Regions from separate parts of the Homo sapiens genome. Here regions 1 and 3 are each linked to region 2. The links are contacts of gene promoters, found by promoter capture Hi-C in blood cells and fetal thymus (Javierre and others, 2016). All regions are on one chromosome and are shown on one strand. The core of a region is centred on a gene start or on the middle of the fragment in contact, and the rest is flanking DNA. Distances in the headings are between cores, read along the strand shown.

Region 1 (4,214 bases), core at 1,520-4,019, 220 kb before region 2:
TCTGAGCTAAGGGAATGGCCTGACAGGGAACGGTTGTGGGGAGCCGTGCGTGATGAGGATGCCTACCCTACGTGAGTGGCATGGGGCCAAACCAAGGAATTGGGGGCTTAGTTGAAAAGGGCAGGCCAGGTGCAGTGGCTCACACCTGTAATCCCAGCAATTCAGGAGGCTGACTTGGGAGGACTGCTTGAGGCCAGGATTTGGAGCCCTATTTTAAAAAAATGAAAGGACAGGTATTGGAAGGCAGCAGAAGTTTTTAAGCAAGGGAATTAACCATTTTAGACAGATCATTCCGGCAGCGGAGCAGAAGGGATATGGCCAGAGGAAGAAACACCAGGTGAAAGACTGAGTTGATCCAGGTTTAAGGCATTACATCGAGGGGCTGAACTTGAGACAGTCCCTGAAAATGTAAGAACAGGAGCTAGAACTTGCTTATGGGAAGGGCCTAGGGAGAGGAAGAAATAAAAGATCACTGGGCAAGGTGCTGCTGCAGGGCCAGGAGGCAGGACAGGCAGCGGGAGAAGGGCCAGGAGGAGCCCCAGATGCAGAGGGGACAGACCAGCCCTGCCTGCAGGCCGCTGTGCACTGAGTGAGCTCAGGGTGAGCAGAGCTTTTGAGCCCTCCCCTTCCCCAGCTTGGCAGGCACACCAGCTTGTGTGGTTTCACGGCTTCATTCCTCCCCCTAGAGGCTCCTGGAAGCACAGCTGCTTTCTCCTAAGAGTGAACAGGTCTGTGGCTTAAACATCTTAGGTCCATTCCCAGAGTTTCCAGCTCAACCCCTTGGCTCTCCTCAGGCCGGCCATGTGAGCCCCCTTAGCAGCTGGGTTAAAAAAATAAATCAAGGATGATTGAAGGTGCTGGGAGCTGTGGCTCACGCCTGTAATACCAACACTTTGGGGGGCCGAGGCGGGCAGATCGCCTGAAGTCAGGAGTTTCAGACCAGCCTGGCCAACATGGCGAAACCGACTACTAAAAATACAAAAATCGGCCGGGCGCGGTGGCTCACGCCTGTGATCCCAGCACTTTGGGAGGCCGAGGCGGGCGGATCACGAGGTCAGGAGATCGAAACCATCCTATTCTTGGCTAATACGGCGAAACCTTGTCTCTACTAAAAATACAAAAAATTAGCCAGGTGTGGTGGCAGGCGCCTGTGGTCCCAGCTACTCGGGAGGCTGAGGCAGGAGAATGGCGTGAACCCGGGAGGCGGAGCTTGCAGTGAGCCGAGGTCGCGCCACTGCACTCCAGCCTGGGTGACAGAGCGAGACTCCATCTCAAAAAAAAAATAATAATAAATAAAAATACAAAAATCAGCTGGGCATGGTGGCATGCACCTATAATCCCAGCTACTCAGGCAGCTAAGGCAGGAGAATCACTTGAACCCCAGGAAACGGAGGTTTCAGTGAGCCGAGATCACCCCACTGCACTCCAGACTGGGTGACACCATGAGAAAAAAAAAAAAAGGATGATTGAAGGCAGTTTCTACAGACTAGTCTGTCCTGCTTGGAGAATGGGGGAGGCTGCCAGGTGGCTGCAGCAGCTGAAGGCAAAAAGTGTACCATCTTTTTTTTTTTTTCTTCTTTTTTTAAGAGATGGAGAGGCAGGGGGTGGTGGCTCACGCCTATAATCCTAGCACTTTGGGAGGCCGAGGCGGGCAGACCACGAGGTCAGGAGTTCGAGACCAGCCTGGCCAACATGGTGAAACCCTAAATTAAATCTCTACTAAAAATACAAAATTTAGCTGGGCATGGTGGCGGGTGCCTATAATCCCAGCTACTCAGGAGGCTGAGGCAAGAGAATCGTTTGAGCCCGGGAGGCGGAGGTTGCAGTGAGCCAAGATCGTGCCATTGCACTCCAGCATGGGAGACAGGGTGAGACTCTGTCTCAAAAAAAAAAAAAAAAAAAAAAAAGATATAGGTCTCACTGTGTTGCCCAGGATTGTCTCAAACTCCTAGGCTCAAGCAATCCTCCTGTCTTGGCCTCCCAAAGTGCTAGGATTACAGGCATGAGCCACCATTCTTGGCCCAAAGCACACCATCTATGTGGGGTCCTGGCTCTGCCTCTCACAAACTGTGACCTTGAGCCAGTAGATTACTTTGTTAAGCCTTAAATTCCTCATCTGTAAAACAGAGATAAGACCACCCATCTCAGGGGCATTCAACTGTGATAATTTCATTTATTGTCCAAACCAAGTTTACTAATTATTGGGTGGGCTGGGAAGTATGATCCCCTGGGTGAAGGTGGATATGAATGTGATTTAAACACCGTGAAACTCTGTGCATATGTACAGAGTTATTGCTGTTACTGCAGATGCTGGGAAGAGCTGCTCACCTTCTCAGTAACTCTGCCTTGACCTCCCCTTACCTCCTGTGCTGAGGTCAGCCCTCTCTCCTCCACGTGGGCCAATGGTGGCTCCTGCCCTCCAGCCAACATCAGAGAGGCTGGAGGCACCTTGTCTTCCTCCCAGCCCTGCCCATCTCCATGACTGACCTTTTTGCGCACCCTGGACCTTGCCAACCCAAGATGCTCGCTCTAGAGATGAAGGTGGATGCAGATGCTGGGGTTCGGGGGTGGCCTCAGCTGAGGGCCTGCTGACCAACCAAAGGGTATCGGCAGGGGCAGGGGCTGGCCCTCACCCTGGGCTGGGGGTTGGGCCAGCAGCTTCTCAGCACCAGGATCATGACTCTGAGCAAACCATGTTTACCAGAGCAGCAAAGGACCTATTTATAGCCTCAGCTGCTGCTTTCTCTGGCTCACGGTGGCGGGGGCAGGGTGGCTCCTCAGAGCAAGGGAGGTAGTCGGGTCGAGGGAACCTGGCTCTGCCCAGGTGCCACTGCCCAAACCCCTGGGCCCCATCCATGGCAAGAGAGACCTTCCCCTTCACCTCCTCCATGCTGCGCTCTCTCCGCCTGCAGCAGGAGTGGCTGGAATGGGAGGACCGGCGGCGGGCGGCTGCCCAGCAGTGCCGGAGCCGCAGGTGCCCGTCAAGTCCCCGGGCCCGACTCACTAGGCCTCACCGTTCCTGCCGAGACCCAGCTGTCCACCAAGCCCTCTTCTCCGGCAACCTGCAGCAGGTCCAAGCCCTGTTCCAAGATGAAGAGGCCGCCAACATGATTGTGGAGACTGTGAGCAACCAGCTGGCCTGGTCGGCTGAACAGGGTAGGGGGCACCAGAAGAGGGCAGAAGAGGAGGGAGAAAGAAGGGGAGTGGGTGGGGAAGGGGGAGAGTCTAGGCCCCTCCTTCCCTGCAGACCACAGACTATAGCAGCCCTTTCCACCACCTATCCTAGCTCCCTCCTAAACAGAGATGAGGCAGGGTTAGCAGTCTGTATGTCTTTTAAGAATTAAAAGTTGACCGGGCACAGTGGCTCACGCCTGTAATCCCAGCACTTTGGGAGGCCAAGGCAGGCGGATCACGAAGTCAGAAGTTTGAGACCAGCCTGACCAACATGGTAAAACCCCATCTCTACTAAAAATAGAAAAATTAGCCGGGCATGGTGGTGCGCACCTGTAATCCCAGCTACTCAGCAGCTGAGGCAGAAGAATCACTTAAACCCGGGAGGCGGAGCTTGCAGTGAGCCAAGATAGCGCCACTGCATTCCAGCCTGGGGGACAGAGCGAGACCCTGCCTAAAAAAAAAAAAAAAAGAGACAAGGTCTCACTATGTTGCCCAGGCTCATCTCGAACTCCTGAGGTCAAGTGATCATCCCGCCTTGGCCTCCCAAAGTGCTAGGATTACAGGTGTGAGCCACCACCCCAGGCCCCAAGGTGAACAAGCCTTTGACACTATTAGCCATTCAAAGACGCTGAGATTTCCTTAATGGGAGTCACTCTACTTAGTTGGCCCCTGTGGTTTTATACAGCAATTAATTTTTTTATGACACATACTATGTTTTGTTACAGATTGATAAGCTGTATTAAAAGGCTGTTCCAATTTATTCTTCCACTTCAGGACTTGAATAAGCCCCCTTCCACAGGTACAGCCTGGCAGTGTTTGTGCTCAGCAAACCATGCAGAGGGAAGGCCAGTGTCAGCTGTCAGCTGGAACCAGCATCCCCACTCCCTGCCCTGCCCTGTCTTATACACCACCTCCCAAAACTATTTGCTCTCCCTAGGGTTCTGGGTGCTGACCCCCAAGACCAAGCAGACGGCACCCCTCGCCATCGCTACAGCCCGAGGCTACACAGACTGTGCTCGACACCTGATCCGGCAGGGAGC
Region 2 (3,470 bases), core at 160-2,659:
CAGGAATGGGCCAGCTCCTCCTCCTTCCCTTCAGATTCCTCCACAGGAAGTCTTTTCTTATCAAACTGGAACCCCAAGTAACTTGCTGAGCAACGGGCAGAGCAAAGGGCTATAGCCCCTGGACTCATGGTGGCTAGAATTGCCAGGAAGTGGGTGAGGCCACCCAGAGGGTGGATGCTCATGGCTGAAAGCCATGACTCCTCCCCTTTCCTGAGAATAGTTTATTACCATGTCCTATTGGTTCTGCCTATCAATGATGTCTCTTGAATCTTTACCCCATCTCTACTACCACCGTGCTAGTCCAAGCCACCATCACTTTCTGCTTGGGATAGCGTGATTGTGAACTGGTCCATACTTGTCTACTCTAGCCTACAGTTCTAATCTCCTCCCTTCCCCCATCTGGCTGTACAGCTGTGGTGCTTTGTGACTTGGCCACAGGTCGGGGAAGGAGAAGGAAGCTGCTGCCCCCGATAAAACCTGAGGCTTCTGTATCTTTTTGGATATGGCATTTACCCACTTCCTCCTTCTAGGACCTTGGGCGGCCTCAACCAGCCATATTGGTGCAGCAGCTTCCTCACTCCTCCTCCGTCTTGAGCCAAGCTTTAGTGTGGCCACAGCAGTGCAGTCAGTGCTGGGGACAGGGTGGTGAATGGACCTTGGTCTAGGTGGCAAGGAGATTGGGGATAAAGTGGAGTTATTCCAGGGAATTTTGACTCACAGTTTCTGAGATTATGCATTAGCTGTTCAGTTGAAGGTAGGCCCTCAATCCTTTTTGGGTGATGGAGCTCTTTAACCATTAAGACTTGATTCTGGTTGGGGGCTTTGCCTAGGGGAGCCTTCCCTGACTCCTCAGGCTGGCCGCGTGGGCTAACACACGTAGGCACAGCATTGAGCACACTGTTTACTCTTGGTCCGTTCACAGGATTGTGTAAATGAGTCCCTTGGGAGCAAGGCTCCTTGCTACAGCCCTAGAGACTACCCAAGAGTCCAATGTGTAGTACGTGTATTGCTGAAAGACTGGATGGAAACACACACTAAGGATGGAAGATGCAAACATAGGGTGACAAAGTGAAGGGATGAGTTTTGAGCAGAAAGGCAAAGTCATTTTCTCTCGGTAAGCGGAAGAGGAGGAGTGCCAAGTCTTACTGGCACTCATGCCTTCCCAAAAAAGCAGGTTCTCAGGAAGATTTAAGAGGTCCGCTAGGGGTAACCATAGCCACATTTTCCTTTTGATTTCTATTTTCTGATCAAACTTAACCATTGCCGTATCCTGCTCAACCACCCTGTACCATTTTGAAGTCCCCTCGTAATTTACTACCTCAGCCTAGAGTTAAGAATCTTATCCTTTATAGGACAGGAAGCTAAAAGCCTGAACTTTGGTCTGGGCCTTCTTCATTGCTGAGTTCCCAGTGTCAAGTACATGGGAGGCGTGTAATTAATGTATTTGCTTGAACGAATACTTAACCCAGTCCTCTACTTACCTTCTATCCTCCCACTGTCCTCAGGTGAGTGATTGCTGTATTACTGGTGTATTCTGTGAGGCCAAATATGAACTTACATTTCACTCAAGTTTTCAATAAGTATTTACTCTGTTCAAGGCACTGTGTTGATAAAGGATACAAAGATAACCATTAGGCCAGGTATAGTGGCTCATGCCTGTAATCCCAGCACTTTGGGAGGCTGAGGCAGGAGGATGGCTTGAGCTCAGGCATTTAAGACCAGCCTAGGCAATACAGTGAGACCTCGTCTCTATTTTAAAATTATAAAAAATAAAATATTTTAAAAACTCCAAAGATAGCCATCAAGGAGACTTAACAAACAGCCCAGAAAGAGTTAAGACATGAACACACATAACTGCAGCAGAGAGACAGTCAAGCATGCCTTGAAAAATACACAGATTATCAAAGTCGTATATCATTGTTACTCATAACAACCCTAGGAAATAAGTACTATTATGCCCATTTTATAAACACAAAACTGTGGCACAAGAGTTTTAGGTAAATTGCCCATGTTTACGCAGCCAACAGATGGCAAAACTAAGATTCAAACATGGGTTGCACTTGAACTCATGTTCAAGTTGCCTTTTGTCAGAGAATGAAAGGGTTTTTAGGCATAGAGAATACATGAGAGCAGCAAAGGAACACAGAGGTAGGGAAGGACAAGTAGTTGACTCAGCATAGCAGAATGCTTAAAGGGTTGGACTGAGGCGCAAGGGGGTAAAGCTTGGGGATTCAAATTACTGGAGGTCCTTGAATGCCATATTAAGGAATCTGAACTTTAATCCATGGGGGATGGAAAATCATAAAGATTTTAGCCGGGCATGGTGGCTCATGCCTGTAATCCCAGCACTTTGGGAGGCCCAGGCGAGTGGACCACAAGGTCAGGAGTTTGAGACCAGCCTGGCCAACCTAGTGAAACCCCGTCTCTACTAAAAATACAAAAATTAGCTGGGCGTGGTGGTGTGTGTCTGTAATCCCAGCTACTTGGGAGGCTGAGGCAAAAGAATTGCTTGAACCTGTGAGGCGGAGGTGGCAGTGAGCTAAGATCATGCCACTGCACTCCAGCCTGGGCGACAGAGTGAGACTCCATCAAAAAAGAAAAAAAGAAAGAAAGAAAAGAAAAATAAAATTATAAAGATTTTTTACACCAGGTTTGGTGGCTCATGCCTGTAACCCTAGCACTTTGGGAGGCCAAGATGAGGATTGCTTGAAGCCAGGTGTTTGGGACCAGCCTGGGCAACATAGTGAGACCCTGTCTCTACAAAAAAATTAAAATTAGCCAGGCACGGTAGTGCACACCTGTAGTTCCAGCTACTGAGGAGGCCGAGGCAGGAGAATCACTTGAGCCCACGAGTTTTAGGTTACAGTGCACTACGATTTTGCCACTCCACTCCAGCCTGGGCAAGAGTAAGACTATGCCTAAAAAACAATTTTTTTTTTTTTTTTTTTTTTTTTTGCTGGGCATGGTGGCTCACACCTGTAATCTCCCAACACTTTGGGAGGCCAAGGTGGGCGGATCGCTTGAGGCCAGGAGTTTGAGATCAGCCTGGCCAACATGGCAAAACCCTGTCTCTACTAAAAATACAAAAATTAGCCGGGTGTGGTGGTGCACACCTATAATCTCAGCTGCTTGGGAGGCTGAGGAAGAATTGCTTGAACCTGGGAGACGGAGGTTGCGGTCAGCCGAGATCGTGCCATCACACTCCAGCCTGGGCAACAAGAGCAAAATTCCATCTCAAAAAACCCAAAAAACCAAAAACCAAAAAACACATTTTTGAATTTTTTTTGGCTCAATTCTGATGCACAATCCTCAGTTAATGATATTTTACTTGGCTCATATTCTTTTTATTTTTGAGACAGGATCTTGCTCTGTCACCCAGGCTGTAGTACAGTGACCTGAACATGGCTCACTACAGACTTGACCCCTGGGCTCAAGCAGTCCTCCCACATCAGCTTCATGAATAGCTGGGA
Region 3 (4,187 bases), core at 1,015-3,514, 250 kb before region 2:
CTCGGCTCACTGCAAGCTCCGCCTCCCGGGTTCAAGCGATTCTCCTGCCTCAGCCTCCCAAGTAGCTGGGACTACAGGCGCCTGCCACCACGCCTGGCTAATTTTTTGTATTTTTAGTAGAGACAGGGTTTCACTGTGTTAGCCAGGATGGTCTCGATCTCCTGACCTCGTGGTCCGCCTGCCTTGGTCCCCCAAAGTGCTGGGATTACAGGCGTGAGCCACCGCGCCCGGCTGGAAGATGTATTATTCTTTATTTTTTAATTTTTTTTTTGCGACAGAATCTCACTTTGTTGCCCAGGCTGGAATGCAGTGGCATGATCCCAGCTCACTGCAACCTCCGCCTCCCAGGTTTAAGCCATTCTCCTGCCTCAGTCCCCTGAGTAGCTGGGATTACAGGCGCCCGCCACCATGCCCGGCTAATTTCTTTTTTTTTTTTTTTTAGACGGAGTCTTGCTTTGTTGCCCAGGCTGGAGTGCAGTGGCGTGATCTCGGCTCACTGCAAGCTCCGCCTTCCGGGTTCATGCCATTCTCCTGCCTCAGCTTCCCAAGTAGCTGGGACTACAGGCGCCCGCCACCACACCCGGCTAATTTTTTTGTATTTTTAGTAGAGACGGGGTTTCACCATGTTAGCCAGGATGGTCTCGATCTCCTGCCCTTGTGATCCGCCCGCCTCTGCCTCCCAAAGTGCTGAGATTACAGGCAAGAGCCACCGCGGAAGTGAGCATTGAGTTGCCCAGCCATTCGCACTCCCTCCTGACAAATGGCATCAAGTCATTCAACAAACACTTGTTCAGCCTGGGCAACATAGGGAGCCTTCATCTCTACAACAAATAAACATAAAAAAATTAGCTGGGCTTAGGCCAGGCACAGTGGCTCACGTTTATAATCCCAGCACTTCGGGAGGCCAATGCGGGTGGATCACGAGGTCAGGTGTTCAAGACCAGCCTGGGCAACATAGTGAAACCCTGTCTCTACTAAAAATACAAAAAGTTAGCTGGGCGTGGCTGGGCGCAGTGGTTCACGTCTGTAATCCCAGCACTTTGGGAGGCAGAGGCGGGCAGATTACCTGAGGTCAGGAGTTCGAGACCATCCTGGCCAACATGGTGAAACCCTGTCTCTACTAAAAATACAAAAAATTAGCTGGGCGTGGCTGGGCGCAGTGGCTCACGTCTGTAATCCCAGCACTTTGGGAGGCAGAGGCGGGCAGATTACCTGAGGTCAGGAGTTCGAGACCAGCCTGGCCAACATGGTGAAACCCTGTCTCTACTAAAAATACAAAAATTAGCCAGGCATGATGGCACATGCCTGTTATCCCAGCTACTCGGGAGGCTGAGGCAGGAGAATTGCTTGAGCCTAGGAGGAAGAGGTTGCAGTGAGCCGAGATCATGCCACTGCACTGCAGCCTGTCCTGCAGAGCGAGACTGTCTCAAAAAAAAAAAAAAAAAAAAAAAATTAGCCGGGCGTGGTGGCGGGCACTTGTAATCCCAGCTACTTGGTAGGCTGAAGCAGGAGAATCGCTTGAACCTGAGAGGCAGAGGTTGCAGTGAGCCAAGATCGTGCCACTGCACTCCAGCCTGGGCAACAATGTGAGACTCCGTGTCAAAAAAAAAAAAAGTTAACTGGGTTTGGTGGTGTGTGCCTGTGATCCCAGCTACTCAGGAGGCTGAGGTGGGAGGACTGCTTGGGCCCAAGAGGTGGAGGATGCAGTGAGCCATGACTGTGCCGCTGCACTCCGGGCTGGGTAAGGGAGTAAAGTAAGTCTCAAAACAAAAACAAACTCATTTTCTGAGTGTCTTCAATGTGCCACATGCTGGTTCACAAAGGTGAAAAGCCACAGTCTTGCTCTGAAGCAGTATTAAGTCAAGCAGGGAGGCCGGGCGCCATGGCTTACGCCTGTAATCCCAGCTACTTCGAAGGCTGAGGCAGGAGAATCGCTTGAACCCGGGAGGCGGAGGTTGCAGTGAGCCGAGATCGCGCCACTGCACTCCAGCCTGGGCGACAGAGCGAGATTCGGTTTAAAAAAGAAAAAAAAAAAAGAACGGAAAAGAAAGGGGCGGGGGCAGGATTAGGCATCGTGGGGCCAAGATGCTTGATCTCACCTGAACCAGTGCTGAACCAGCCGACTGGGAAGAGGAGCCGCTTGGGGGCGACCGAGAGCCCATCCGTTTCCCCTTTAAGACCAGAGCGGAAGACTACAGTGAGAAGGCCCTTTGTGTCGGCGGGAAAGAAATATGCCTGCCCCTTTAAGAAGGCGGAGACGCCCCAGTGGCGGCGTCTTCGAATGCGGCCTAAGGCGCCTGCCGCCAGTCTCCTGGCGACTTTCCCTATATCGCAGAGACTCATCCCTCTGACCCCAGCCCGGAAGCACTGTCCCTCGGAGTCCGAGACTTCCACCTGGGTCGTGTCCAAGGCCCCGGCGACTCCCCGGACTCGGGGTGCCGGGCCAACCTCCCCGCCGAGGCCCACCCGCCGTCGCTATGGTAATGCCGCGCCCAGCTTGGGGGCTGGCGGGCCGCAGGGCCCCCTGGCCTCCGGAACTGCTCATGGGGTTCCAGCCCCTCGCCCGCGCAAGTTGCAGGACCGGGGTCTGGGTGGGGGTTCGGCGGAGTCGGGAGACCTGGGCTGTCGTCAGGGCTTGTCATGGACGCGCCGGAGACCCTGAGAAAGCATTCTCCTCCCCCGGGCCTCAGTTTCCCTCCTGTTGCCTTCCTACCCTCCTGGGAAACCCCCCTTTCCAGTGCGCTCAGACGTCACTACCGCTTGGGTCCATCCCTTTCCCCTCCCCGCCCCACACTTTCTACTTTTTTTTTTTTTTTTTTTGGACGAAGTCTCGTTCTGTCGCCCAGGCTGGAGTGCAGTGGCGTGATCTCTGCTCACTGCAACCGTCGTCTCCCGCCCACCCCTTTCACTCTGACCCTTAGAGTCTTGGGAACTGTATCGCCAGCTGTAGCTCCTGCGGCTCTGGCATCTGGGGTTAGGCACCACCTCTGATCTGGGTTTGACACTCATCAGGAACTGGCTACAGCAGCCCTGCTGGCTAGAAAGAAGGAACCGTGGACTGGGGCATCCTACTCTCCTGGGACCCTAGTTTTTGGGCCTTGGATTAGGTAGGGAAACTACTGGCTTCATTTGCAGAAACAATGCCACTGTGCAGACATGTTTGGATTTATGGTAGTTTCTCTTATGTTTGACATAAGATTGGTCAGGCGAAACCTTTGGGATATTGCAAAATCCTTAGGCCCAAGCCAGGGGCCGTGGCTGACACCTGTTTTTGTTTGTTTGTTTTTTTGAGACAGAGTCTCACTCTGTGGCCCAGGCTGAAGTGCAGTGGTGCGATCTCCGCTCACTGCAACCTCCACTTCCCAGGTTCAAGCAATTCTCCTGCCTTAGACTCCCAACAAGCTGGGATTACAGGCGGGCACCACCACCCCAGCTAACTTATTTCTATTTTTAGTAGAGACGAGGTTTCACTTTGTTGGCCAGGCTGTTCTTGAACTCCTGGCCTCAGGTGGTCCACCCGCCTTGGCGTCACAAAGTGCTGGGATTACAGGAGTGAGCCACCATGCCCAGCCTGTGGCTGACACCTATAATCCCAGCACTTTGGAGGCCACAGTGGGAGGATCACTTGAGCCCAGGAGTTCAAGACTGGCCTGGGCAATGTAGTGAGGCCCCGTATCTATAAAAATTTAAAAATTAGCCTGGGCGCAGTGGCTCACGCCTGTAATCCCAGCACTTTGGGAGGCTGAGGTGGGCAGATCACAAGGTCAGGAGTTCAAGACCAGCCTGGCTAACATGGTGAAACCCTGTCTCAACTAAAAATACAAAAAAAAATAGCCAGGCATTGTGGCTTGGCCTGTAATCCCAGCTACTTGGGAGGCTAAGGCAGGAGAATTGCTTGAACCTGGAAGGTGGAGGTTGCAGTGAGCCAAAATCGTGCCGCTGGACTTCAGCCTGGGCAACAGAGCAAGACTCCGTCTCAGGAAGAAAAAAAAAAAAAGAAAATTAGCTGAGCACGGTGGTGCACACCTGTAGTCCCAGTTACTCAGGAGGTTGAGGTGGGAGGGTCACTTGAGCCTAGGAGATTGAGGCTGCAGTGAGCTATGATCTTGCCACTGCACTCCAGTCTGGGCAATAGGGCAAGACCCTGTCTCAAAACAAAAGACAAAAACAAAATGTTTACGCCCATG

The links. The method cuts DNA at HindIII sites, captures the fragments that hold promoters and counts their contacts. A CHiCAGO score of 5 or more calls a contact.
Region 1: a contact is called between the fragment with the promoter of ASB16 here and a fragment that was not itself captured in region 2, in 2 of 17 cell types (neutrophils and erythroblasts). The highest score is 5.5, in neutrophils.
Region 3: a contact is called between the fragment with the promoter of HROB here and a fragment that was not itself captured in region 2, in 1 of 17 cell types (erythroblasts). The highest score is 5.5, in erythroblasts.

The regions. Positions count from the first base shown.
Region 1 is chr17:44,167,935-44,172,148 of GRCh38, forward strand. It overlaps ASB16 (ankyrin repeat and SOCS box containing 16), which reads left to right and starts at 2,770. Exons shown (of 5, transcript NM_080863.5): 1 at 2,770-3,156; 2 at 4,112-4,214. The coding sequence starts at 2,856. The HindIII fragment of the contact is 23,995 bases long and covers 1-4,214 here.
Region 2 is chr17:44,389,499-44,392,968 of GRCh38, forward strand. ITGA2B (integrin subunit alpha 2b) reads right to left here and starts at 151. Exons shown (of 30, transcript NM_000419.5): 1 at 1-151. RefSeq lists an enhancer at 308-367. The HindIII fragment of the contact is 1,622 bases long and covers 599-2,220 here.
Region 3 is chr17:44,139,666-44,143,852 of GRCh38, forward strand. HROB (homologous recombination factor with OB-fold) reads left to right here and starts at 2,265. Exons shown (of 10, transcript NM_001171251.3): 1 at 2,265-2,480. The coding sequence starts at 2,478. RefSeq lists an enhancer at 2,020-2,189 and silencers at 2,490-2,549, 2,796-3,090. The HindIII fragment of the contact is 21,085 bases long and covers 1-4,187 here.